Regions from separate parts of the Homo sapiens genome. Here all the other regions are linked to region 1. The links are contacts of gene promoters, found by promoter capture Hi-C in blood cells and fetal thymus (Javierre and others, 2016). All regions are on one chromosome and are shown on one strand. The core of a region is centred on a gene start or on the middle of the fragment in contact, and the rest is flanking DNA. Distances in the headings are between cores, read along the strand shown.

Evidence for each region. Contacts are between HindIII fragments. The CHiCAGO score rates a contact against its expected background, and 5 or more counts as called.
Region 2: a fragment that was not itself captured here is called in contact with the fragment with the promoter of KRT71 in region 1 in 4 of 17 cell types (M2 macrophages, M0 macrophages, naive CD8 T cells and 1 more); the score reaches 6.5 in M2 macrophages.
Region 3: a contact is called between a fragment that was not itself captured here and the fragment with the promoter of KRT71 in region 1, in 4 of 17 cell types (naive CD8 T cells, M2 macrophages, M0 macrophages and 1 more). The highest score is 7.2, in naive CD8 T cells.
Region 4: a contact is called between a fragment that was not itself captured here and the fragment with the promoter of KRT71 in region 1, in 2 of 17 cell types (M1 macrophages and M0 macrophages). The highest score is 5.6, in M1 macrophages.
Region 5: a fragment that was not itself captured here is called in contact with the fragment with the promoter of KRT71 in region 1 in 2 of 17 cell types (naive CD4 T cells and M0 macrophages); the score reaches 5.5 in naive CD4 T cells.
Region 6: a contact is called between a fragment that was not itself captured here and the fragment with the promoter of KRT71 in region 1, in 5 of 17 cell types (naive CD8 T cells, naive CD4 T cells, total CD8 T cells and 2 more). The highest score is 7.5, in naive CD8 T cells.
Region 7: a contact is called between a fragment that was not itself captured here and the fragment with the promoter of KRT71 in region 1, in 8 of 17 cell types (naive CD4 T cells, M2 macrophages, naive CD8 T cells and 5 more). The highest score is 8.0, in naive CD4 T cells.

Annotation. Positions count from the first base shown.
Region 1 is chr12:52,551,493-52,555,153 of GRCh38, forward strand. It overlaps KRT71 (keratin 71), which reads right to left and starts at 1,653. Exons shown (of 9, transcript NM_033448.3): 1 at 1,145-1,653. The coding sequence starts at 1,585. The HindIII fragment of the contact is 3,012 bases long and covers 1-1,838 here.
Region 2 is chr12:52,982,360-52,986,020 of GRCh38, forward strand. No RefSeq gene overlaps it. Among named protein-coding and RNA genes, the nearest start is that of EIF4B, 22 kb to the right of the region's middle. The HindIII fragment of the contact is 2,705 bases long and covers 689-3,393 here.
Region 3 is chr12:52,959,450-52,963,110 of GRCh38, forward strand. No RefSeq gene overlaps it. Among named protein-coding and RNA genes, the nearest start is that of KRT18, 12 kb to the left of the region's middle. The HindIII fragment of the contact is 7,526 bases long and covers 1-3,661 here.
Region 4 is chr12:52,941,437-52,945,097 of GRCh38, forward strand. It overlaps a transcript of KRT8 not described here. Among named protein-coding and RNA genes, the nearest start is that of KRT18, 5.9 kb to the right of the region's middle. RefSeq lists an enhancer at 2,319-2,913. The HindIII fragment of the contact is 3,648 bases long and covers 1-3,516 here.
Region 5 is chr12:52,923,798-52,927,458 of GRCh38, forward strand. It overlaps a transcript of KRT8 not described here. Among named protein-coding and RNA genes, the nearest start is that of KRT8, 21 kb to the left of the region's middle. The HindIII fragment of the contact is 7,195 bases long and covers 1-3,661 here.
Region 6 is chr12:52,907,376-52,911,036 of GRCh38, forward strand. It overlaps a transcript of KRT8 not described here. Among named protein-coding and RNA genes, the nearest start is that of KRT8, 4.1 kb to the left of the region's middle. The HindIII fragment of the contact is 423 bases long and covers 1,721-2,143 here.
Region 7 is chr12:52,886,312-52,889,972 of GRCh38, forward strand. It overlaps the pseudogene RPL7P41. Among named protein-coding and RNA genes, the nearest start is that of MIR9898, 11 kb to the right of the region's middle. The HindIII fragment of the contact is 4,525 bases long and covers 1-3,661 here.

The DNA.
Region 1 (3,661 bases), core at 403-2,902:
GCCGCAGAGCCAGTCCTAGCCCCTGAGGCTGAGCCGAGGGCAGCAGGGACTCCTCCAGGCAGGAAGTCTGAGCTGCAGGAGCTGGCTAAGCTCTGATGGCCACATGACCGTCTCACCCATAGACTTTGTCCTGGGTTGACCCGTCCTTGGTGCCTGACTGCCACAGAGCCAACAGAACCCTCCAGTCTCCTCCTCTGGGTCTGGAGGCAAAAGGCTGAGGGTCCAGCCTCACCCTTCCCTTTCCCCAAATGACCCTGGGAATGCCATTTACCTCCATGCCTTCAGTGACTCATACGATAGGGATAATCATTTCTTCTCTGCCAGAAGTCAGGGGCCTATCTGGACTGTGTCATCTCTTCAGGTCTCTAGACACCTTTGATTCCTCCCCTGAGCTTCCCTCCCCCACATTCCAGAGATAAGAAATGAGAGTCACAATCACAATCATTTTTGGAGTATTTAGTGTGCGTCAGGCTTGTGACAAGATCTTCACCTGCATTTTCTTTTATAAGCCTGACAACAACCCCAAGACAGAAGTTATTATCTCCATTTTAGAGATGAGGAGATGGCAACACAGACAGGCAGATCACCTTCCCAGAGCCACTCAGCTGTGGCCAGCAGTGAGCACAAGAGCACCGTGGAGTCCCCTTCCCCAGTGCCCTCTTCTGCCTCTCAAGAAAGTCTTCAACTGACTGGAGCAAATGCCCAATCAGAGGGCCTGAAGCGGCCCCTTCCTGCTGCTCCTGATCCGCTGGGCAAGTGACCAGTGGGCAGGGCAGCATGCCAGGGGAGGAGGACAGCTTCCCTGCTTACTCTGGGCGAGACTGGCTCTCACAGGCCTTTTCTGCACACGGCCTGCAGGCCTAGCAATGGCACCAAGCTAGCCCTCAAGAGGAAGGACCACATCTCTTGCTGGGAGCCCTGAGAAGCCTCTGCCAGTAGAAATTGACCTGCCTCTGTTTTCTCTCTGGAAAGACAACACAGAGAACCTTACACAGGTCACCCTGTTGATGGGATGTACCTACCTTGTCCACAGTAAAGTCTTCCTCACATCTAACCTCAATCTCTCCTGCTGTAACAAAATCGTATGTTCCAAGAAGAGAAGAGGAGGGCTGTTCACAAGTTCCCCAGGCCCTAGAAGACCCACCTTGTCGATGAAGGAGGCGAACTTGTTGTTCAGAGCCTTGATCTGCTCTCGCTCCTGGGCACGCACTTTCTGGATCTCGGGGTCCAGCTCCACGTTGAGGGGGGCCAGGAGGCTCTCATTGACGGTAACCTGGTGGATGCCTCCAGGTGGGCATACAGTTGGGCACACAGGCCCCAGGGCCACACTGCCAAACATGCTTCCAGCAAAGCCACTGGCCCGGCCCCGGCCAAATCCATAGCCTCCACTCTTCCCGCTGCCACTGGCCACATTGAGGCTCCGGACACCCCCCAGGCTGTAGAGGCTCCGGCTGCCAAAGCCCCCACTGAGCCCTTTGCTCCCTGCCCGGAAGGAGGATGAGCTGCCCCCTGAGAGCACAGCTGAGCAGCCACTGAAGCCCCCCTTGGCGGCAGCTCCCGACTTGCAGGTGAATTGGCGGCTCATGTTGCTGGTGGAGACAAAGCTCAGATGCAGGAGGGAGGAAGGCAAAATCCCAAAAGGTTCTGCTGGTTGTAGTGAGGACTGGCAGGTGCCTTTATATGTGCTTGGCACTGGGGCTTGTGGATGGGCAGTCAAGAGCTTAATTCGTGGGTTTGGCTTGCCTGGGAGCAAGAAGTCATTTTCTCTATGCTGAGCTAGAGATCAAGCCCTCTCCACCTCTGAAACAACATGAAACCTTCAAATTGCTGGGCTTGCAAGCTTTGCTCATGTAATTTGGGTCTTATCTAATTAACCTGCTGTTATAGGGTAATTTGCCCCAGGCCCTGGCCTCTCCAGGGGGATGTCACTGGCACTGCACCATCCCTATCCTGATTAATCTTCTCTGGGTTGTTGGCTTCCTCCTGGGGATGCAGCAGGTGAAGACAGGATGGACTTTCCTGGATAGTTCAGGACACTGGGTAGAGTACTGGGGCCTCCAACTTCTGTTCTCCTCCTTCCTGGAAAGGGACTGATCAGGCATTACCTCTCCCCAGGCCTCCTGGAAACATAACCCATAGAGGGCAGCTGCTCTCACTCATGGGGTATTAGGAGGTGGAGTGACCCTCTCGCTAGCATGGGACAGAAGCAGCCCAGGCCAGAGCCAACCACGGGCACTATCCTCACTTCTCCCCCCTCAAACACCCATAATAAAGCAGGCTGGAGGCTTCAAACACTGGAGAAAATGAGGACGAGAAAAGGAGGATGGAGTTGGGGCAGGTGGCTGAGAAATTCAGGGACTTGACTGGAAGGAGGTACAGAGAAGACAAAGACAGAGGCTGGCCCATGGCCTGGAGGGTTATGGAGATTCCTGGGTGGTCCACTTCCTCATTTCTGTCTCTCCTCCAATGTGTATCTGCTAATAAGACTAGGAACAACTTGAGGACAGTAATCATCTGTTTAGAGTTCAAATAAAGAAGCTGTTATCAACATGAAACTTAACTCCTATTGCCTCTGTCCAGGCCCAAGTGAGCCAAGAACAAGGCTGGCTGAGCCCTCCCCAGGAGTGCAAGCCTCCAGGCAGGCTCAGACCAGAAAGACCCAATGGGGGCGACCCAGTAAGCACGATGTCATTCTACTCCAAACAGTCCTTTGATGCCAGCCCCAGAGACTCTGGCTGCAGCCCCTGCTTCCTAGCCACTGGCTCCTGTGTTGGGCCCCAGCTACTCCCATGATCGCCATTGCCACTGTGGCCCTATTCAACCCAAGGCAGCTCTGTCCCTGAAGATCACCCTTGCCCAGAGATCCCTGCTGGAGCCCCATGGGTGAACAGCAGCTCTTTGCTGGGTGGGGCACAGGAGGGAAGAAAATCTGGAGACAGGCTGGTTTGGGGCTCTCTCTCATATTGTTTAGGGGAAGAGCCTGGACTCCAGTCCCTCCCAATCCTCTGCATTCCTTCCTCTACTCTTGCCCCTGCCATTTTGTCTTCTTTGCTCTTACTGAAACTACCCGAATTTTCCTATCCCTGCCTTCTCTCTTTCTCACCTTCTCTCTCCATCCCTCCTCATCCCTCCCATCCATCTTCCCTCCATCCTTCCCTCTCAGCCTTTCGCCATCTCTTGTTCTGTCACTTCCCCATCCTGCTCTCCTCCAGGAGGTCTTCCTGCACCCACACAGGCCAGGTCTGAGCTCTCCTTACCTCCCTCCGCTCTGAACACATCCTTAGCATGTGCTGGTGGGGCTGCAACTCTGTGACAGCTCCCATGGGGATCCTCTGAAGCCATGTCACATGTCATCTTAGTTTTTCTTTGTAAGGCTAGCAGAGTCTTCTCCAGATTAGAGACCACCTAGTGCACTCTGAGATGGAGCAGGGACGCCCTCGTAGGGGCCTTCAGGTCCCCTCAAGCATGGAAATAAAGGACAATCTTGAGTTCCTTCAAGGGAAATTCTGGGCACCTTGCTAGCCTGGAGAAATAAATAAGCAACCTGACAAGCAAGAAGATAACAGTAGCCCAAAACAACAGCCACGAAAGCTGGAATCGTGGGATGTTTGGTTCCGCCATAGAAACTAAAGATAGCACCTTAACATATGTCCCAGAGTTG
Region 2 (3,661 bases), core at 791-3,290, 430 kb after region 1:
TTCCAAGATAGGTAAGTATAAGTGGTCCCATGTTATGAAAAAGGAAACTGCCAGGCGTGGTGGCTCACGCCTGTAATCCCAGCACTTTGGGAGGCTGAGGAGGGCGGATAACCTGAGGTCAGGAATTGGAGACCAGCCTGGCCAACATGGCGAAACCCTATCTCTACTAAAAAAATACAAAAATTAGCCAGGCGTGGTGGCAGGTGCCTGTAATCCCAGCTTCTCAGGAGGTTGAGGCAGGAGAATTGCTTGAACCCGGGAGGTAGAGATTGCAGTGAGCCCAGATTGCACCATTGCACTCCAGCCTGGGTGATAGAGTGAGACTCCATCTCAAGGAAAAAAAAAAAAGAGAGGCTGGGTACAGTGGCTCAGGCCTGTAATCCCAGTACTTTGGGAGGCCAAGGTGGGCGGATCACAAAGTCAGGAGTTCGAGACCAGCCTGGCCAACACAGTGAAACCCCATCTCTACTAAAAATACAAAAATTTGCCAGGCATAGTGGCGCACGCCTATAGTCCCAGCTACTCAGGAGACGAGGCAGGAGAATCGCTTGAACCCAGGAGGCGGAGGTTGCAGTGAGTTGAGATCGCACCACTGCACTCCGGCCTGGGCAACAGAGTGAGACTCTGTCTCAAAAAAAAGAAAAAGGGAACTAGGGTTTCGGACAAGACCAAATGACATAGTAGAAAAAGCTTTGAAGTCAGACCAGATCCAAGTTTGAATTATTTATTTGTTGTTGAGTATCACAAACTGTCAGTTCACTCCCTGGATAAAAATTGCATGTGAACACCTCTAGCCAGGGCATGCACTCCTCAATCTTCCATAGTCTGCACCACTCCCAGTGACCTACACCACTTCGCACACTTGCCTATCTGAACCCTGACAGTATTTGAATTTGAGACCCTTAAAAATATTATTCCACTTGATCTTTAACAGGGGTTTGTAAGGAAGGCAGTAGCATAACAAAGGTAGGAGGGTAGGAGGATTCCACCCTGAGTCAGGCAAGAACGGATGTTTAGTCCGTAACGAATTTTATTTTATTTTATATTTTATCTATTTTATTTTATTTTATTTTTTGAGGCAGAGTCTCCCTCTGTCACCCAGGCTGGAGTGCAGTGGCAAAATCTTGGCTCACTGTAACCTCTGCCTCCCCAGTTCAAGTGATTCTCCTGCCTCAGCCTCCTGAGTAGCTGGGATTACAGGTACATGCCACCATGCCTGGCTAGTTTTTTTTGTTTGTTTGTTTGTTTTTGTTTTTTTGGTTTTTTTTTTTTTGAGACAGAGTTTCACTCTTGTTGCCCCGGCTGGAGTGCAATGGCACAATCTTGGGTCACCACAACCTCCACCTCCAGGGTTCAGGAGATTCTCCTGCCTCAGCCTCTGGAGTAGCTGGGATTACAGGCATGTGCCACCACGCCTGGCTAATTTTGTATTTTTAGTAGAGACGGGGTTTCACCATGTTGAGCAGGCTGGTCTTGAACTCCCAACCTCAGGTATTCTGCCCGCCTTGGCCCCCCAAAGTGCTGGGAATACAGGCATGAGCCATCGCACCAGCAGTTTTTGTATTTTAATTAGTATTATCAGTGAATTAATAATATCTGCCCTATGATTATAAAATTGAGCAGTATAAAGATATACAATGAAAAGAAAGTCTTCCTCCTACCCAGCACCCAGCCCCACAACCCACTCCAGAGGCAACCATTATTTACAGTTTTTCAACGTATAGGTGGATATCATTTTAACCTAATTTTACAAATGAGGAAACTGAGGCTTAGAGAGGTTGAGTGGCTGTCCTGAGATCACGGGCCTGATGGAGCTAACAGAGATGATATCAGATCTTGTCCTTGACACTGCATTGCCACCCTAACATCATCCTGCTTCACACATACATCCTGGGTATGCATCCTGGACTGAGAGTCCTCAGAGGGCAGGAGTTGCCCATGGAACCTGCTAGGGGCAGTAGTCAGCACTGGGCCACTGGGTGCTACAGCAGGAGGCCTGGGATCTGCACCATGATTAAGCTGCTGTGTGATGTTGAGCAAATCTCTTGATTTCCTCACTTGCCTTTCTTTCTCACTAGGCTATATTGAGATTTAAACAAGCCAAGTAGAAAGATGATTGGAGAGTAAAGATGTCATACAGATTCAAGGAGGGGTGAGGACAGATATTTAGTATAGGGTTAACTTTGTACTTTCCTTGGAGCACACGTGTCCATGTTCAGATACTTTACAGATACTTTAACTTGAGCACATGCGTCCTTGTTCAGTTCCTTGAAAAGTGTTGCTTGTTCACTGCCTTTCTTCTTTTTTTTTTTTTTTTTTTTTTGAGACAGAGTCTTGCTCTGTCACCCAGGGTGGAGTGCAGTGGCGCGACCTCAGCTCACTGCAACCTCCACCTCCTGGGTTCAAGTGATTCTCCTGCCTCAGCCTCCCAAGTAGCTGGGACTGTAGGCACGTGCCACCACACCCAGCTATTTTTTGTATTTTTAGTAGAGACGGGGGTTTTACCGTGTTAGCCAGGGTGGTCTCAATCTCCTGACCTCGTGATCCACCCGCCTCAGTCTCCCAAAGTGCTGGGATTACAGGCGTGAGCCACCGCGCCCAGTGCCTTTCTTTCTTTTTTTAGACAGGGTCTCGCTCTGTCACCCTTGCTGTAGTGCAGTGGCACAGTCACCACTCACTGCACACTTGACATCCCAGGGCCAAATGATCCTCCCACCTCAGCCTCCTGAGTAGCTGAGACTACAGGTGTGCACCACCACACCAAACTAATTTTTTATTTTTTGTAGACATGGAATCTCACCATATTTCCCAGGCTGGTCTCAAACTCCTGGGCTCAAGGGATCCTCCCCCTTGGCCTCCCAAAGCACCGGGACCACAGGCACATGCCACCATGCCTAGCTAATTTGTTTTTGTTCGTTGGTTGGTTTCTGTAGAGATTGGGATCTCACTATGGCTGGTCTCAAATTCCTGAGTTCAAACCATACTCCTGCCTTGGCCTCCAAAAGCACTGGGACTACAGGTGTGAACCACTGTGCCCGGCCTTCTGCCTCTCTTCTTTTTTGTGTGTGTATCGGGGTTTCGCTCTTGTTGCCCAAGCTGGAGTGCAATGGTACGATCTCAGCTTACTGCAACCTCGCCTCCCAGGTTCAAGCAATTCCCTGCCTCAGCCTCCCAAGTAGCTGGGATTACAGGCATGCACCACCATGCCCGGCTAATTTTATATTTTTAGTATAGACAGGGTTTCACCATGTTGGCCAGGCTGGTCTCGAACTCCTGACCTCAGGTAATCCACCCGCCTCGGCCTCCCAAAGTGCTGGGATTACAGGTGTGAACCACCGTGACTGGCCTTCTGCCTCTCTTCTTTGGAAGAGGGTTGACTTCCATTTCTCTACAAGCTTCAAGCCCAGTACAGGTAATAAGCCCATCAAATTGGCTGCACAACCACCTAGAAGGTTTGGGGCCAAGCCACATACTCAAGTAATGACACTTCTTTCAGGGAGCAGCACAGGGCTCCCAACCCATTTGGGACACAGGACAGCCGAGGCAGAAAATTCAATCGTGGTAGACAGTGTATCTCTCCAAAGAAGAAACACTTGTCTTCTGCCTCCAGCTGACATTCTGTGACTGCACAGACAGCACTATGTCAATTTAGCTATTACTA
Region 3 (3,661 bases), core at 513-3,012, 410 kb after region 1:
AGATCGAGACCATCCTGTCTAACACAGTGAAACCCCATCTCTACTAAAAATACAAAAAAATTAGCCGGGCGTGGTGGCGGGCGCCTGTAGTCCCAGCTACTCAGGAGGCTGAGGCAGGAGAATGGAGTGAACCTGGGAGGCGGAGCTTGCAGTGAGCGGAGATTGCACCACTGCACCCCAGCCTGGGCGACAGAGCGAGACTCAAAAAACAACAACAACAACAACAACAACAACAAAAACAATGTACACGTTATCTTACAGTTTGTTATCTTACCGTTTGGTATATCAGAAGCCCTATCAGGGCTTCTGCAGAGCTATTTTCCTTCTACAGGTTGTAGGTGGAACTGGTTTCCTTGACTTTTCCAGCTTCTAGAGGTCACCTGCATTCCTTGACTTGGTCCCATCTGCCATCTTTAAAGCCAGCATCTTCAAATCTCTCCCCACTTCCCTCTCTCCTGACTTCTGCTTCCATTATCCTCACATCTCCTTTCTCTGACCCTTCTGCCTCCTTCTTATAAGGATCCTTTGATGACATTAGATTTACCCAGACAATGAGCATAATCTCCCCAACTTAAGATCTTTGATTTACATGGCAAGGTCCCTGTTGCTGTGTAAGGAAACTCACAGGCAAAGAGGGGCGGTTAGGATATGGACATCTTGGGATGGGAGGGGACCATTATTCAGCCTACCATAGGAAGGGGGCAGCAGATTGCAGGATTTTTTGTTTTTGTTTTTCTTTTGAGATGGAGTTTCATTCTTGTTGCCCAGGCTGGAGTGCGATGGCTCAATCTCAGCTCACTGCAACCTCCGCCTCCCGGGTTCAAGAGATTCTCATGTCTCAGCCTCCCGAGTAGCTGGGATTACAGGCATGCGCCACCATGCCAGGCTAATTTTGTATTTTTAGTAGAGATGGGGGTTTCTCCATGTTGATCAGGCTGGTGTCAAAATCCCAACCTCAGGTGATCCACCTGCCTCAGCCTCCCAAAGTGCTGGGATTATAGGCGTGAGCCACCACGCCTGGCCAGCAGATTGCAGTTTTAAGTAGGGCAGCCTGGGCAGGAAGTGACATTGGGCCAAGACTGAAGGAGATGAGGGACCTAGCCTGGCATATCTTGGGGATCAGCAGCGAGGATGGGTCCTGGGTGTATGAGCAGCATCTCTCAGCCCCCGACCTGCACATTCAGGTTTGCCCTTGTATGTACCCTTAGGTCTCCTTGGGGCCCACAGGGCATTGGGAAAGGGTCGACTGCCAACGTACCTTGCCCCAAAGCTCCTCCTCATCCCCCCTGCACCCTGCCACTGAAGGCCCTCACAGGCCACCAGTCTAAGTCCAGCAGCCTCCCCTCTCTCCTCATCTTTTTCAGCCTCTGCAGCACTTGACCCTGATGTCCTTCTGCTCTTGACCTGCACACCACTGCGCTCCGCAGTCCTCTCACCTCTGCCTGCTGCACTTCATCCATCTGCCCTTTAAACACAGGCCTTGCAGGCTGTCCTCAGCTTTTTCTCTTCTTGGGCCTTTTTTTTTTTTTTTTGGAGATGGAGTCTAACTCTGTCGCCCAGGCTGGAGTGCAGTGGCACAATCTTGGCTCACTGCAACCTCCACCTTTGGGGTTCAAGCGATTCTTCTACCTCAGCCTCCCAAGCAGCTGGCATTACAGGTACCCACCACCAGGCAGCTAATTTTCTGTATTTTTAGTAGAGATGGGGATTCACCATGTTGGCCAGGCTGGTCTTGGACTCTTGACCTCAAGTGATCCACCCACCTCAGCCTCCCAAAGTGCTGGGACTACAAGTGTGAGCCACCGTGCCTGGCCATGGACAATCTTATTTTTATTCCCTGACTCTGTTGCTACCTCTGAGCTGGTATCTCAATATTTACCTCCAGCCCTAGCCTCTCTTGAGCTTCAGAACCGTGCTATATTTTCCAACTGCCTTTGTTTCATTTCATCATGTGGCATACTTAGCTATTTATGTCATCTTCCCCATGAGACTGGAAATGCCTTGAAGACAGGTACCCTATTTTTTTGTTTCTTTGGTTTGTGTTATTGTTTTTTGTTTGTTTGTTTTGTTTTGTTTTGAGACAGTTTCACTCTTGTTGCCAAGGCTGGAGTGCAATGGCGTGATCTCAGCTCACTGCAACCTCCACCTGCTGGGTTCAAGTGATTCCCCTGCCTCAGCCTCCCAAGTAGCTGGGACTACAGGCATGCGCCACCACACCCAACCATTTTTGTATGTTTAGTAGAGATGGGGGGTTCACCATGTTGGCCAGGCTGGTCTCAAACTACTGACCTCAGGTGATCTGCCCACCTCAGCCTCTGAAAGTCCTGGGATTCCAGGCGTGAGCCACCGCACCCAGCCTACCCTGTTTTCTTCATCCTGGTGTCATCCTGGATTGGTCATATAACAATGGCAATTACCATAATAACCAGTATTTGGTTTTTTTTGGGGGGGACAGAGTTTCACTCTTGTCACCCAGGCTAGAGTGCAATGGCACGAACTCAGCTCACTGCAACCTCTGCCTCCCAGGTTCAAGTGATTCTCCTGCTTCAGCCTCCCAAGTAGCTGGGATTACAGGCGTGCACCACCATGCCTGGCTAATTTTTGTATTTTTAGTAGAGATGGGGTTTCACCATGTTGGCCAAGCTAGTCTCAAACTCCTGACCTCAGGTGATCCACCCACCTTGGCCTCCCAAAGTGCTGGGATTACAGGCATGAGCCACCGCGCCTGGCCAGTAACCAGTATTTACTGAGCACTTTCTATGTGTCAGGCACTGTGCTAAGCACATTACATATATTAATTCACTTAATCCTAACAACAACCCTATGAGACGGATAGTATTACAATCCTCATTTTACAGGTGAAGAAACTGAGGCTCAGAAAGGTAAACTACCTTCCTTAAGGTCTCACAGCTAAATAAATGGCAAAGCCAGAATTCAAACCCAGGCAGTCTGGCTGCAAAATCCAAAGGCAGTAGTTGGAATGGATTGGCATTCAGCTCCATTCCAAATTGGTACCTTTCTGCTTCAGAAACCAAAGAGCTAAAAAGTGCATTTCCCAGATGTCCTTGCAGCTAGGAAGTGAATTATGTCGCACTAATTAGATGCAGATGAATACGATTCGGAAAGTGGAAGTGAGGTGAAGACCCTCCTCTGCTGCTTTGATTGTTCCTGCTAGCACGTCTGGTCATGAGGCTGTGGGATTTTTCTGGAGCAGTGTCCAGTGTCCAGTCATTTGCTTTGTAGGTATTGAGTATTGTGAGACAGTTGAACCACAAGGAGCAGTAGTGGTTTCCTGATCCATGGATCACAGCTGCAATTTGTGTTCATGGGTTCAGTCAGCTTCAGGATCCCCACCAGCTAGAGTAGTTTATTTCCTGCAACTAGAATTCAGGATGATACCTTCAAGGAAGGGATCTGAGAGTGGATATCTGAAGTCTCAGTTATCACATGTAATGACAAAATGAATAAATTAATTTACTACCTGGGATCACCAGGAATGACTGGCCTATTGAAGGTAAGGCTTTGGCAGGCTACACACTGTTGAGATTAAATCGTTATGGTGGGGAAAGGAAATCAAAGGCCCTGGTGTGGTCTGCCTGCTTAACTGCACTGGTGAGCTTAAAGAATTAAAAAAAAAAAAAAAAAAAAAAAAAAGGCCGAG
Region 4 (3,661 bases), core at 443-2,942, 390 kb after region 1:
TCTTACCCTTAGCCCCCGGGCTCCTCTAGCAAGTTTTTGCTCTTTTTTTTTTTTTTTTTTTTTTTTTTTGAGACAGTGTTTCACTCTTGTTACCCAGGCTGGAGTGCAATGGCGTGATCTCAGCTCACCGCAACCTCCACCTCCTGGATTCAAGCAATTCTCCTACCTCAGCCTCCCGAGTAGCTGGAATTACAGGCATGTGCCACCACGCCCAGCTAATTTTGTATTTTTAGTAGAGACAGGGTTTCTCCATGTTGGTCAGGCTGGTCTCGAACTCCCAACCTCAGGTGATCCGCCCGCCTCAGCCTCCCAAAATACTGGGATTACAGGTGTGAGCCACCGTGCCTGGCTTTTTACTCACTTTTTGAAGCCCTGTCTGAGCATTCATTTGACCTCCGTGAAGTTCTCCATGACCCCAGTCCTTCAGCACGTAGAACGCAAGCTCCATGAAAGCAGCAACCTTGTGGCTTTTCTGTGCTGTATTCTCAGATCCTAGACCATGCTGGCATTAGGTGCCTTACAAAGCGTTAATGAATTAATGAATTCTTCCTTTCTCTGACAGTCCTCTGGAGCTTGTCATAGCACCAATCACACTGTATTTTGTTTGTCCAATGATCTGTTCCCTCTAATAATAATCTCCTTGATTATTATTGTCTAGTTGTATTTATCTTTGTATTCCCAGGTCACTATTGGTGGAAGTGAACTAAACCGACAGCCTTAAAGCTCCATGTTGATGATTCTTCCAGGAGGAGGAGGCACACTTAACAAGCACCTGCTCCGCCCCAGGCCCTATCATACATGCTTAATCTCTGCAACAAACCGATAAGGAAGCTGGAGATCAGAGAAGCTCGCCGACTTGGGCACCCAACTTAGGCACCCAACTTGACCAAGGTCACCTAGCAAGGAAACAAGCAGAGCTGGGATTCAAACTGAGATCTGTCCAACTCCAAAATCTTGTTTCTCCATCCTCTCTTTTCCCAAAGATTCTTAACCCCATGATTTTCAGTGCCTTCAGCACCCTGAAGTGACATCACCAGCTGCTCTGACCCCAGATTCTGATACTCTCTCTCACCTTCCCCATCTCACGCTCCTGTGCTTTCTCTGCAGCTTCCAACTGCCGTGCCACCTCAGTCCCGGGCTTCCTCCTTTTCCACTAAACTCTTCTGTTTGCCTTTGCTTCCCCACCCAAGGCCCAGCCCTTTCAGCCATGTTTTAAGGCTTCTTTGTCCCTGAGCTTCCACCTCTCCTGCCTTCTCATCCCTCAGTGAAGCCCACCATTTTTTCTCTCCCACCCCCAGGATACGCAGTGTTTCTTGTGTGGCTGGTCTCATCATGAAGCCATGTTGTGTAACTGCTGTTGGGATCTCAAGACCACTGACTCACCTTCTTATGCCTCATGGTTAGAACACAGAGTTCACCTAATGTGCCACGGTGTCCTCCTGCCTCTGCCACACGCTTCTGATTGGGGAGGAAGGAGCCTAGAGAGGTTACACACAACACATCCCAGCTCTGCCACCTACTAGGATATCACTTTTCAGGTTGCAGCTTAAATGTCACTCCACTCCCCCAGAATCTCAAGCAGGATTAGTGTTTACTGATTTGGGCTTCCATTGTTCCCTGGACTCACCCAGGCATAGCACCAACCACACTTTAGTGCTATTGCTTGTTTAATTACTGATCAGCTTTACTAAACTGTCTCATCCTAAGGCAACCGTCCATCAGTTCTGCGACCTAACAACCGCTTGGCCTCCCGATTTCTCCTGTCCGTCGCTGATAAACTGCTTGAAAGAAAAGTCTACATTTTGCCTCCACTTGGTCCTCTCTCTCCTCCCTCTCAGTCCACACCCCGGCTCCAGGCTCCATCGCTCTACTGAAAGTGCTCTTTTTGTCCTCAGCCTCCCTGATCCTTTTGTGCACCTGGCCCTGTGGGCCCCCCTTCCTTGAACCTCATTCTTCTTGGCTTTCATGACGTCCTCTCTCCTGGTCTCTTCCTGGGAACTTAGAGATCTAGGCCTTCTCCTCTTTCTCCTCTTCTCCCTCTGTCTCTTCCTCTTCTTCTTGCCTCAAGTCCCTCTGTGCTGACTCTGCTCCTTCTTTTCCCTGATCCTTTCCCTTAGGCCACCTCACCCACAACTGGGTTTCACCCAAATCCTTGAGGGGGATGCTCCAGGTGGGCCCGTTGCACGTGGCCGTGCAGGGTGTTCAGTGTACAGGCACACCCTGCCAGGAAACAAGGAAGAGGCTCCCTCTCTGCAATTTGTGTAAAGGCCCCGCAGGTTAGCTGTGACCCTGGCATCCATACCTCCTGCCCCATGCCTCTCCCAAGCTCCAGCCCTGCTCTCCTAGCTGCTCACAGGATAGTTCCCTAAACACTGCTGGCAGAACCTGCCCAGCCTAGGCCAGGAAAGAGGCTGACAGAGACAGAGCCGGCTGACTGGATGATCTGGAGATAGGTTCTTGGCCACTCTGTTCTTCCATTTCACCCCCCTTTTCAAAGACTCAGTCTTAGCCACCCTGCCCTGAGCCCATGTTAGATGGAAAAAAATAGTGGTGAGCAGGGAGCAGAAGGCTGGAGAGTAGTAAGTGCAAAAGAACAAGGGGGCTGGGAAGAAAAGGAGCAAATGGGGCAAAGCAGACAGGAGGGGAGGTCAGCTGGCTTCTCAGCTGCCAAAGCTCTTCCAGGCACGTCATCTCATTTGGTCCTCATGAAAACTCTCTAAGTGGATATTACTATTTTTCTCATTCTACAGCTGAGGAGAGACCAAGCTAGTAAAGGCTGCTCAAGATCACTAAGCCAGCAGTGGGGAATATTGTGAAATATTGAAATATTTTATTATTTCATAGAGACAGGGTCTTGTTATACTGCCCAGGCTGGTCTCAAATTCCTGGCCATAAGCGATTCTCCCACCTCAACCTCTCAAAGTGCTGGGATTACAGGCATGAGCCACCTGGCCGAATCCAGGTCTTTTGACACCAAGTGCCCTATTCATCCCTTTGCCCTCCCCTAATCTCTGGGCAGATTTGAGTGAGGCGATAGGCTGGGGGATATGGCATTGGGATACTGGGGTTGCACCTGAGGAGAAGCCAACAGCACCAGGGTCAGAATGGGCAAAGGACATAAGCACAGGCAAGGCCATTCCTGGTGGGGCTGGGCCAGGGAGCTGAGGGGCTCCTAGAAGGGCCAGGTTCCCCGACTTCTCTGAGCTTCAGCGCCTGGAGGTTTCTGGGCAGCCACACGCTTCTCAGCGCTGACCCTTCCTCTTCCTTTATCCTTGGAAAATAACCCCTAGGGCACAAACCCAACCGAAGCAATGATACTAAGTGTCAGGGCATTCCTCGACTCTCCCACCCCTGGGGAAGAGGGCCTGGCCCAAGCCCTGAGAACCCGTTCCCACCTCCACAGGCAGTGCCAGGGACTCCAAATAGGGTGCTGAAATTCCAGAAGTCTTGATATCAGACTGGGTCCTGCACCCAGCTGCCACCCGCATCCTCCCCCTGCTCCGCAGCTGCCTCTGAAGCTTGTACCCTTGCCCCCACCTCTTGTCTCTCTGCAGTCTACCTGACTGCACTTTCTGATGACCCCCACTGACCTCTCCTAGCACCCCATGTTTATTAATTACTTAAACCTAAAGTATTTACGGAGCTCCACCTATGTGCCAGA
Region 5 (3,661 bases), core at 343-2,842, 370 kb after region 1:
TTTAGAGCTTTGAATTGCCTAAAGTGCTTGCAGTGTAGTGAGAAAAGCATTATATATTTTTTTTTTCGAGACGGAGCCTCGCTCTCGCCCAGGCTGGAGTGCAGTGGCATGATCACTGCTCGCTGCAACCTCCGCCTCCCGGGTTCAAGCGATTCTCCTGCCTCAGCCTCCCGAGTAGCTGGGATTACAGGCGCCCGCCACCACGCCTGGCTAATTTTCGTATTTTTTCAGTAGAGACGGGGTTTTACCATGTTGGCCAGGCTGGCCTCAAACTCCTGACCTCAGGTGATCCGCCTGCCTCAGCATGAGCCGAGTTGTGAGCCACCCACCACACCCGGCCAAAAGCATTATACTTAAAATCATACATTAGGCCAGGCGCAGTGGCTCATGCCTGTAATCCCGGCACTTTGGGAGGCTGAGGCAGACAGATCACAAGGTCAGGAAATCGAGACCATCCTGGCTAACACGGTGAAACCCTGTCTCTACTAAAAATACAAAAAAATTAGGCGGGCATGGTGGCGGGCGTCTGTAGTCCCAGCTACTAGGGAGGCTGAGGCAGGAGAATGGCATGAACCCGGGAGGCGGAGCTTGCAGTGAGCTGAGATTGCGCCACTGCACTCCAGCCTGGGCGACAGAGGGAGACTCCGTCTCAAAAAAAAAAAAAAAAATCATACTTGATTTGGGCTCTCAGCTTTTGTTCTCTCATATGTAAAATAAATTAGATTGAGGCTGCAGTGAACTATGACAGGCCACTGCATTCCAGCTTGGGCGACAGAGCCAGACCCTGTCTCAAAAAAATAAATAAAAATTTAAAAATAAAATAAATTATATGATGATAATGTTTGTAAAGATAATTGTAAAGATAATTGTAATTTGTAAAGATAATTGCTTGTATAGGACACTACTGTATAGGACACTACTGTGATGGGAAAAGACCATGCACTCTTCTCTAAGAATTCACCGTTCCTTCTGTCTTTTGCCTTCCTCCCCTCAGCTAAAGGGCTCCTGGAGTGAAGTGGACCCTCAGCTGTACTCTGTGGTCTGCGGCAACAGCCAACGCACAGAGGAGCATCCTCTCCTTAACTAAGCACCGAAAGGGAGTGAAAGGGTAGACTGAAGGAAGGACTTACTAATTCAAGGAGTCATTGGAGCAGAAATGAGTGACCAGGAATGGGGAGGATGCGTCTGTGGAAAAGGAACAGGGCTGGGCCCCCTTCTCACTGGTCCTAGATGGGATCAGGCCTGCCCAGAAGCCAAGAAAAAGATGTTGTATAGACCTCAATGGGGCAAGGCCGGGATGATTGAGGGGATACCTTCAGGGGAGGAGGTGCTAGGCAGTTTTCTGAAAATGGTGCGTTCAGACAGCTCACTATTTCCTGTAGTAATTCCAGGAAAAGACTGAGTAAGACAAGGTCAGGACCGGGAGGAATGCAGCTGGAGGAGGTGTGTATGCACAGTCTCCCCAGGGTGAGCCTGTCCAGAGCCATAAACCTTATCTCCTTCCTCTGAATAGCTGGGATAGCTATCTCTGGCTCCCAGGGGCTCAGGCTGAGTCAGGGCTGGAGGCTGGGAGAGACTGTGGGCCCCGAAGCATACCTAAAACTGTGAGACCACTCAGCACTTAGGTATGAATGGCGCCATTTAGGGTCTGAAATGGTCACCATTTTCAGAAACCTGCTCAACACCTCTTCCCCTGCAGGTATCCCCCTCCGTCATCCTGGCCTTGCCCCATTGATACCTGAAGTGTGGCACATTCAGGAATGAGATTGGAGCAAAAGGGATCTCTTTGGCGGAGGTGGGGTCAAAGAGATAGATTAGGATGATTCATCTCCACAAAGGCTAAGGCTTTAGATTCCTACCAGCCAGCCCCAGGCCAGAAATTTCCCCTTCAAGGAAAGTTGGGCTCCAGGGCTGGGCAATACTATCACCTCAATTATCCCTCTGTTCCTGAGTTCTAGGGTTTATGCACAGTTCTTAATGGGGCCTAATAGTTTCTTTGTCTCTTCCAGCCCTCTATCTTAGAGGACAGGAGGTGGAGCCTACCAACAAAGGGACCCAGGTTCCAGTTCCAGGGCTGCGTTTCTCTCCCCCTCAGGGCCCATTACTCTGAGCTGGGCCCCAGGTAGGGGAGGAAGGAGGAGAAAGGAGGCAGTGTTCTCATGTTCTCTGTGTCCCTGAGAAATTCCCCACCTCCCTTTCAAGCTCCCTCCTAGCAGGCTGGTGAGACCTGCCCTGGAGACAGGCTGGTGCGAGAGGCCCCCTCTGCAGAGTGGAAGGGGGTGACATAATTGCCTGTCCTGAGACTTCTAGACATGTACACACTGTCCCTCTGCCTGGTGTGTCCCTGCCCCCCGCCCCCCACCACCTCTCCTGCTCGCTCAGGTATCCTCTCCAGTGCCCAGCCAGACTGATCTTCTACAAACACTGCTTTGATCCTGTCACTCCCTAGCCCAGAGCTTCCCGTTGCCTTCAGAATAAAGGTCAAATTCCTCATCTGGTGGCTGAGGCTTAGCCTTCCCCACCTGGCACTAGCTGCCCTCCCCACCCCACCCCCAGGACTGTGCCCTCCTCTCCTGAAGCACCTCCTTGTCACCTGCACCTGTTGAAACCTTACCCTTCCTGCAGGTCCTGGCTCCAGCTCACCCCATTCATTCCGCAAACATTTGCTGAATGAAAATCATGCATCAGGCACCTCCCCACAAAGCCTGCCCCAGTCACCTCTGCCGGAAGTGGCCACTCCTATAGAGACCCCAAGAATAGGGCTTTGTTACACCCCTGGGCTGGGTTACACTTGCTGTGGGCATGTCTGAGCTCCCCTCCCTGATTGTAAACCTGATCCACAGTCATTTAGCATGCACTGAACATCCACTATTAATGAGGCATTTTCCATATTTGTCTCATTTGACCCTCACAAGGACCTTGGGAGTTCAGTCTTCTTATCCTTATTTACAGATGAGGAATCCAAGGCTCTAAGAAGTAATGTGCCCAGCAAGTAGTAGTCAGAGCTCAAACCGGAGTCCTGTACCCTAAGTCCAGGGCCCGCACATCAGCGCCAAGGCATCTTCCTCAAAAGTAGGGGCGTGTCTTATACATGTTTCTGCTTCCCTCCACACCCAGCACAGGAACTTGTTTGATTCACTGAATGAATGAATGAATGAATGAATGAATGAATGAATGATTCAATTCTATCCCATGAGTCCTCTTCTCTACTCTGACCCTATCTCCTCTCTCCCACATTGCTTTTTTCCTATCTTCTGTCCCTTACCCTGGACCCCAAGGATTCCCCCCAAGGGAGGAAAGAAGCTGTGATTGTTTCATGGATACCAGAGATGGGAGCTAAGCCTCAGAAGGGTGTCCACAGCCTGGACACACCCCAGGGAGGAGATTCAGGACAGGAAGACCCCTTCACCTTCACCACCACTCAGTTTGATAGACCCAGGAGAGTTCCAGTCCTTCTCTCCACCCCTCCCCAACTCCAGCAGGAAATAGGTGGGCCCAAGGGAGCAGCAGGACAAGCCAGAGAACAGTGAGAGGGTGAAGAGGGGCCCAGATTCAGTGACTCACCACCCTTGGGCCTCCCCTGGGGAAAGGGTGGGGAGCCTGGACACTTGGAATTCCTGCCTGTCCCTAGGGAGACACTTGGGTGTTAGGAGGCTGAACA
Region 6 (3,661 bases), core at 682-3,181, 360 kb after region 1:
GGAAAGGGAGGACAGGCGCTCTCCCTATCTTCCCTCCCCCACGCTGCTGTTAGAGGGAGCAGGGGGCACTCAGGTCCTGATCTAGGCAGCACAAGGAGCAAAAAAACAGCACCCCAAAGCCTTTCCTGAAATTCCAGTCCCCTCCACCCCACCTTTCTGGTTCCCTGGTTCTAGGAGTGTCCCTTGTTTAAGGTGAGGACAGAGGGGGTTGCCAGGGACCCTGCAGTATGCAGGCTGGAGGGCTGACCCAGACCTTACCCAGCCAGGGGAAGCCCTTTTTTTCTGGGGCAGCCCAGAACCGTCTAGGGCCAGAAGTGTTTGTGTCTCATTTGTCATCTCTCTATTGCCCAGAGACCCCAGCCAAACCTTCCCCCAGATGCCCCAAGCACAGCCTCGGTGCAGGAGAAGAGGCCAGAGTTGGCCTCTCTGATGGCCCCTGCCTGGGACTTCAGGGTTAAAGGCAGAAGGAGAAGGCCCCTGGGACTAGGGCCAAGTGGTGAGGGAAGAGAGAACCAGACTGGAGCAGGCCCACAGGTACAACTCCTTGTAAGGCATTGTGGTCTACACACAGCTGCCTGCCGGACAAAAGGGAACAACGTGTTTGCGGTGCCTGCCCTACCCAGACAACTCTGCCTCAAACCGCCTTTCCTGGAGAGTGAACCAGGGAAGGAGGAGACACTCACTCCCTGTGGGCCAAGAGTGAGGGCCAGGCCCCCTACTTCTGATGGTGCAGGATAATTCAGAGAAGGCCCTGAGACCCTGAGCAGTGGCATTAAGTCTTGGGGCCAGTGGGGTGGGGAGGTAGCTGTTATCATCACTCATGATCATGGGAAGAGATGGTCTGAACAAGTTTTTTTTTTTCTTTTTTGAGACGGAGTCTCGCTCTGTCACCCAGACTGGAGTGCAGTGGCGCAATCTCGGCTCACTGCAAGCTCCGCCTCCCGGGATCTGAACAAGTTTTGCTTAGAGATCAGGACTGATGATCTCATTCGCTGCAACCTTGTTCATAATAGCCAAAGAGTGGGAACAAAACAAATGTCCACCAAATGACGAATGGATTTCTTTAATGTGGCATATCCATACGATCTAATGTTACAATTAAAAGGAATGAACTACTGATGCATGTTGGATGCAGATGAGCCTTGAAACCCGTATGCTCAGTGAAAGGAGACAGTCATAGAAGATCAGGTACCCTATGATTCCATTTATATGACATGTGCACAACAGGCAAAGCATAGAGACAGGAAGTAGATTAGTGGTTGCCTAGGGAGGGGAGGAATGGAGATGAATGCTAAAGAGCACAGGGTTTCTTTCTGGGGTGATGAGAATGTTCTAAATTTGATGGTGGTGGGCAGGCACAATGGCTCTACCTATAATCCCAGCACTTTGGGAGGTCGAGGCAGGAGGATTACTTTAGCCCAGGAGTTTGAGACCAGCTGAGCAACATAATGAGACCCCCGTCTCTACAAAAAATACAAAAATTAGCCAGGTATGGCGGCACACGCCTGTAGTCCCAGCTGCCCTGGAGGCTGAGTTGTGAGGATCACCTGAGCCCCGAAAGTTGAGGCCGCATGCATTGAGCCAAGACTGTGCCACTGCACTCTAGCCTGCGTGGGAGACAGAGTGAAACTCTGTCTCAAAAATAAATAAATAAATAAACAAATTTGATGATGGTGAAGCTGCACAAGTCTGTGAACATACTAAAAATCACTGAACTGCAAGCTTCAGATTGTTGAATTATATTGTATGTGAATTACAGCTCAACAAAGTTGTAACAAAAAGATAACCACAAAAGCATAAATGAGCTACATATAAAAAGCAGGGGCTTTGTGCCCAGCATAAGGGGTCAGGGGAAAGAAGCAAAGAGTTTGTTTAGATGCCCCAGGTAAAGAGGCTTCCTGCCTCTGGGTTAAGGCAATGCCCGAAAAGCACCCGAAATCCCTTTAAATGATGGAGCATTTTGAAATGTTATTATTGGTATAGAAATAGCTGCATTTAGCATAGAGACAGCAGAACAATTTGTTTAAATAGGAAGCCACAGGTGGTGGGTACACCCCTCAGGAAGCAGCATCATGAATAATAGAGTCAATTCGATTGCTAATTTTGTGTTATGTGCCTCAAGGCTAAAATTTTTCATTGTCAAAGCTTAGCAAATGCTGACTTTTTTGCTCTTGATCAGTGATGGATCTGATGATTAAAGCCAGCCAGGATGGAAATGGACTGCCTAGAGAGGGAGCAACCTCCTGTACCTGGAGACATGGAGAGGGACCTTGCTCACCAGCTGTCCACTGGCTCAGTGGGAGGGGGTTCTCACATCTGCTAGGGTTTGAATTAGAATGTCCAAGTCCCGCCAACTCTGAAAGCTTTTGATCCACATCCACCACCATAGAGCTTTACGCACTGAAGATGAAAATCTGTGAATGTTCTCTGGTTTGAAATTTTGCTTGTGATAAGAGATATGATTAGAAATTATTAGAACAAGAGTGAGGGAGGACAGCACAGCCTTGTTGTGGAGGAAGGAGACACAAGCCCAGCAGCCTGAAGATGTTGAGGTCTCCCACACTTTTTTTTCTTTTTTTTAGAGACAGGATCTCACTATGTTGCCCAGCCTGACTCGAACTCCTGGATGCAAGCAATCCTTCTGCCTCAGCCTCCCAAAGTACTAGGGTTACAGCGTGAGCCACTGCACACAGCCTTTCTCACATTTTCAACATTCTCTCACCCTCCTCTCCACTGATGCCAAACCAAGAAGGTCATCCCACTGGGTGAGCATGAAGCCTAGGCGGAAGGTCCCAGCTATGGCTCAGTCCACAGAGTCCTTCCCCTTAACTCTGGTTCTCCATCACATCAAGATCGCCCGTGGGAGATTATAACAGTATACGTGCTCAGGTCGCACCCCGTCTGCATTTTCAAAGCTTCCTCGGTACAGCCAGAGTCAGGCACCAGGCTTTAGCTCTGGTCCCAACACCAAGACCTTTAGGAACACACTTTCTTCCTCTTCCCAGAGGAAATAGGCCAGAGCTCAAATCCACAGCACTGCAGGTTCCTGCTTAGAAAGGGTGATATACTCTGTCCCTCAGGAAGGAAAACAGAGTGGTTCAGTCCCCAGAACCTGAAACTCCACCACCGTTGGCCAGGGCCACAGAGACAGAGACAGAGACTGCGAGAGGACAGACACAAATGGGTCCCACTCCTGACAGTGAAGACAGCGGTACTGGGGACTTGAGTGACAGGAAGTGGAAGTTATTGAGAGGATTTCAAGGAAACTTCAGAAGCTGACATTGCGATAGGGGAAGCCCTCATGGTGTTCAGGCAACCGGACAGGAGTGCAGGAAAAGAACAAACAGGAAGGACCTGGGGCTCCGCTATAGGCATCCTGCCCACCCCCACCCCAGCCCTGAGGATTCCCCTGGCCTGAGCTGCTTAGCACTGGAGCTGATATCCAGAGGCCCACTGTTTTGATTTTCCTGCTGGGCAACCTGAGGACTAAGGTGGGAGTTGGGGACAGGGACTAGAGGCCTTTATTCCTTCCTGTATTCACCTTTTCATTTATCCACATATTTGCTTATCAGGCAGTAGTCTAAAAAATTTCAGGAGATGAAGTATTTGGGTCCTCTCAAACCAAAGGAGGTAGGAGTCTCCTTTGACCAAGGCAAGGTAT
Region 7 (3,661 bases), core at 705-3,204, 340 kb after region 1:
GACCACCCATTTTGTAGAAAATGAATGTTGGCAACAGGGAAGACTACATCAATAGGCTTATTAGAAGGATGAACTAAGGGTCCACCATAATTTTTTTTTTTTTTTTGAGATAGAGTCTCACTCTGCTGCCCAGGCTGGAGTGTAGTGGCATGGTCTCGGCTCACTGCAACCTCTGCCTCCTGGGTTCAAGCGATTCTCCTGCCTCAGCCTCCTGAGTAGCTGCCACTACACCTGCCACTACACCCAACTAATTTTTTGTATTTTTAGTAGAGACGAGGCTGGTCTCAAACTCCTGACCTTGTAATCCGCCCACCTCGGCCTCCCAAAGTGCTGGAATTACAGGCATGAGCCACTGTGCCCGGCTACCTTGATTATTTTTCTAATCTGGTCAATTAATAAACAGTTCCTGCTTTCAAAATGAAAAAAAGAAAAAGAAAACCTGAATAGAGGTTATGGAAAGTGAATGTGCTGCCCTGGGGTGGGTGAGGGACACAGAAGGGGTCAGAGAGATAGTTCATCTCGAAGGGGATCCTAAGGGAAAGAGCATGCATCTTTATTTATAGTTTGCAAAACATCTTTACGTGCATCACCTTAATAAACATTACTGCCTTTAATCCTCATGAACACACTGCAATCTGATTGTCCCCATTTCACTGGCAGCAAACTGAAGTTCAGAGCAGGGAGGCAACATCCTCAGGGTCATAGATCCTGTGTGACTGGCAGAGCCAGGGTGCCCACCTAGGTCTTCTGCCCCCTCACCCAGGGCTTATCCCACTGTGCTGACTTTAATCATGTGTCCCTTGCAGAGGATGCCAGGGCCCATCTTCCTGAAACTGCTTCCATCAACTCCCTTCCTTATTCCCCATGCCTCAAGAAAAACAAAAAAAGAAAAACAGTCCAGGCAAGGTGGCTCACACCTATAATCCCAGCACCTTGGGAGGCTGAGGTGGGTGGAGTACCTGAGGTCAGGAGTTCAAGACCAGCCTGGCCAACATGGTGAAACCCCATCTCTACTAAAAATACAAAAATTAGCCAGGTGTTGTGGCGCGCACATGTAATCCTAGATACTGGTGAGGCTGAGGCACAAGAATTGCTTGAACCTGGGAGGCAGAGGTTGCAGTGAGCTCAGATCGTGCCACTGCACTCTAGCCTGGGCAACAGAATGAGACTCCATCTCAAAAGAAAATAAAAGAGAAAAGAAAAGAAAAAGAAAAAGAAACAAGAAAAGAAAAGGGCCGGGCTCGGTGGCTCACGCCTATAATCCCAGCACTTTGGGAGGCCGAAGCGGGCGGCTCATGAGGTCAGGAGATCGAGACCATCCTAGCTAATGCGGTAAAACCCCATCTCTACTAAAAATATAAAAAATTAGCTAGGCGTAGTGGTGAGTGCCTGTGGTCCCAGCTACTCGGGAGGCCGAGGCAGGAGAATGGCATGAACCCGGGAGGCGGAGCTTGCAGTGAGCCGAGATTGTGCCACCACACTCCAGCCTGGGTGTCAGAGAGAGACTCCATCTCAAAAAAATAATAAAATAAAATAAAGTAAAAATAAAAATAAAAAAAAGAGAAGGGAAGGGAAGGGAAAAGAAAAGAAAGAAAAACAATCTCCAACGTCACCCACTGCTGCTGAGATCAACTACAAATATCTCAGCCCTGCATCCCAGGCCTCTGTGACCCACCAAAATGTCCAGAGAATAAAGTGGGTTGGCTCAAAGGTATTGTGAAAAGCACCAAGTCCAGCCCCTCTTCTTTGTTCAAGAAAAGGGGACCAAGGCCCAGAGAAGGCAGGGATTTCCCAAGTGTCCCAGAGCAAGCCAAGAATGTGGAAGCCAGTTTGCTTCCCCGCCAGTGTTTTCTCTGCTCATCACCCAGCCACCTCTGGCAACCACACCTCTGAGACAAGCTGATGTGCTCAGTCTTAGGATTTGCTTCAGCTGGGAGTAACAAAGAAAAAAAAAAAAAAAGCAGTGGCTCAATCCAGACAGATATTTATCTCTCAATTCCCAGACCTATAGAGATAGTCTGTCCAAGGCCAGTATGGCACTACTTTATGGAGGGGACCCAGATCCCACCTCTTTCTTGCTCGGCCAAGGATGACTTCCATTCACCAGGTCACTCATGGTCCAACATGGCTGCTAAACTTCGGCCATTATGCGTGCATTCCTGCTGGCAGAAAGGAGGGGCGAAAGAAGCAGTTCACACTTCCTCTCCCTTTAAGGACACTTTTTTTTTTTTGTGACGGAGTTTCGCTCTTGTTGCCAGGCTGAAGTGCAATGGCACAATCTCGGCTCACCGCAACTTCCGCCTCCCAGGTTCAAGTGATTCTCCTGCCTCAGCCTCCCGAGTAGCTGGGATTACAAGCATGCGCCACCAACCACGCCCAGCTAATTTTGTATTTTTAGTAGAAACGGGGTTTCTCCATGTTGGTCAGACTGGTCTCGAACTCCCGACCTCAGGTGACCTGCCCACCTCAGCCTCCCAAAGTGCTGGGATTATAGGCATGAGCCACTGCGCCTGGCCTAAGGACACTTCTTAGACCCTGTACCCTCCACTTCTACTTCTATCCCTTTGAAACATGGCCACAGCTTAATCATAAACAATGCAGGAAAATGTCTTTATTCCAGAAAGCCGTAGCCCAAATAAAAAATAGGGTTCTAATTACTGAGGAAAAGGGGAGAACAGGTATTAGGGGACCACCAGGGTTCAATGCCTCACTAAATCCCCAGAGTCCACCATGCACACTCTTCCTCACCTTGCCATGTTCCAAACACCTAGTCCCTCCTCCATCCTGTGCCTGAGACAGGGACTGGTTCACCCTAGATGCCCAATGTTTGCTGAATGACTGAACAAATGAAATTGACTTTTCTGGAATATGTATTGTTTTTCCAGATCAGCTAGAAAGAGTTTGAGGACAAGGATCCTGTGTTATGTGTCTTTGTATTCTCCTCTGCCACCATCCTCCCCAGCTCCCAGGCACCAGGCACACACTCTAGACATGTTGCAAGCCAAGTTCTGCCCTAACTCTGTTCTGCTCACCCCTTCCTCAGGCACCTAAAGAGTGTCAGTTGCTGTCATGGGCTGGGTGTGGTCCAGAATCTCTTCAAGGCCACTTCATGGGGAAATACTTTCAAAGATCAATCCACCAGCTGTTTCTGGACTAGGTCTGAGCAAATTAATATATCTCCCCAAAAGGAAAGAGTTTAAAAGGGTTAAAATTGCAGAAAAAGAAATAGATGGCTGGCCAGGCATCGTGGCTCACACCTGTAATCCCAGCACTTTAGGAGGCTGAGGCAGGCGGATCATGAGGTCAGGAGATCGAGAGCACCCTGGCCAACATGGTGAAACCCTGTCTCTACTAAAAATACAAAAATTAGCTGGTTGTGGCGGCACATGCCTGTAGTCTCAGCTACTCAGGAGGCTGAGGCCAAACAATCACTTGAACCCAGGAGGCAGAGGTTGCAGTGAGCCGAGATCATGCCACTGCACTCCAGCCTGGCAACAAAGTGAGACTGTCTCAAAAAAAAAAAAAAAAAACTTATCAAACTCCCAAATTGTTTGGGCCAGGCTCGGTAGCTCACTCCTGTACTCTCAACACTTTGGGAGGCCAAGGTGAGTTGATCATGAGGTCAGGAGTTCAAGACCAGCCTGGCCAAAATAATGAAACC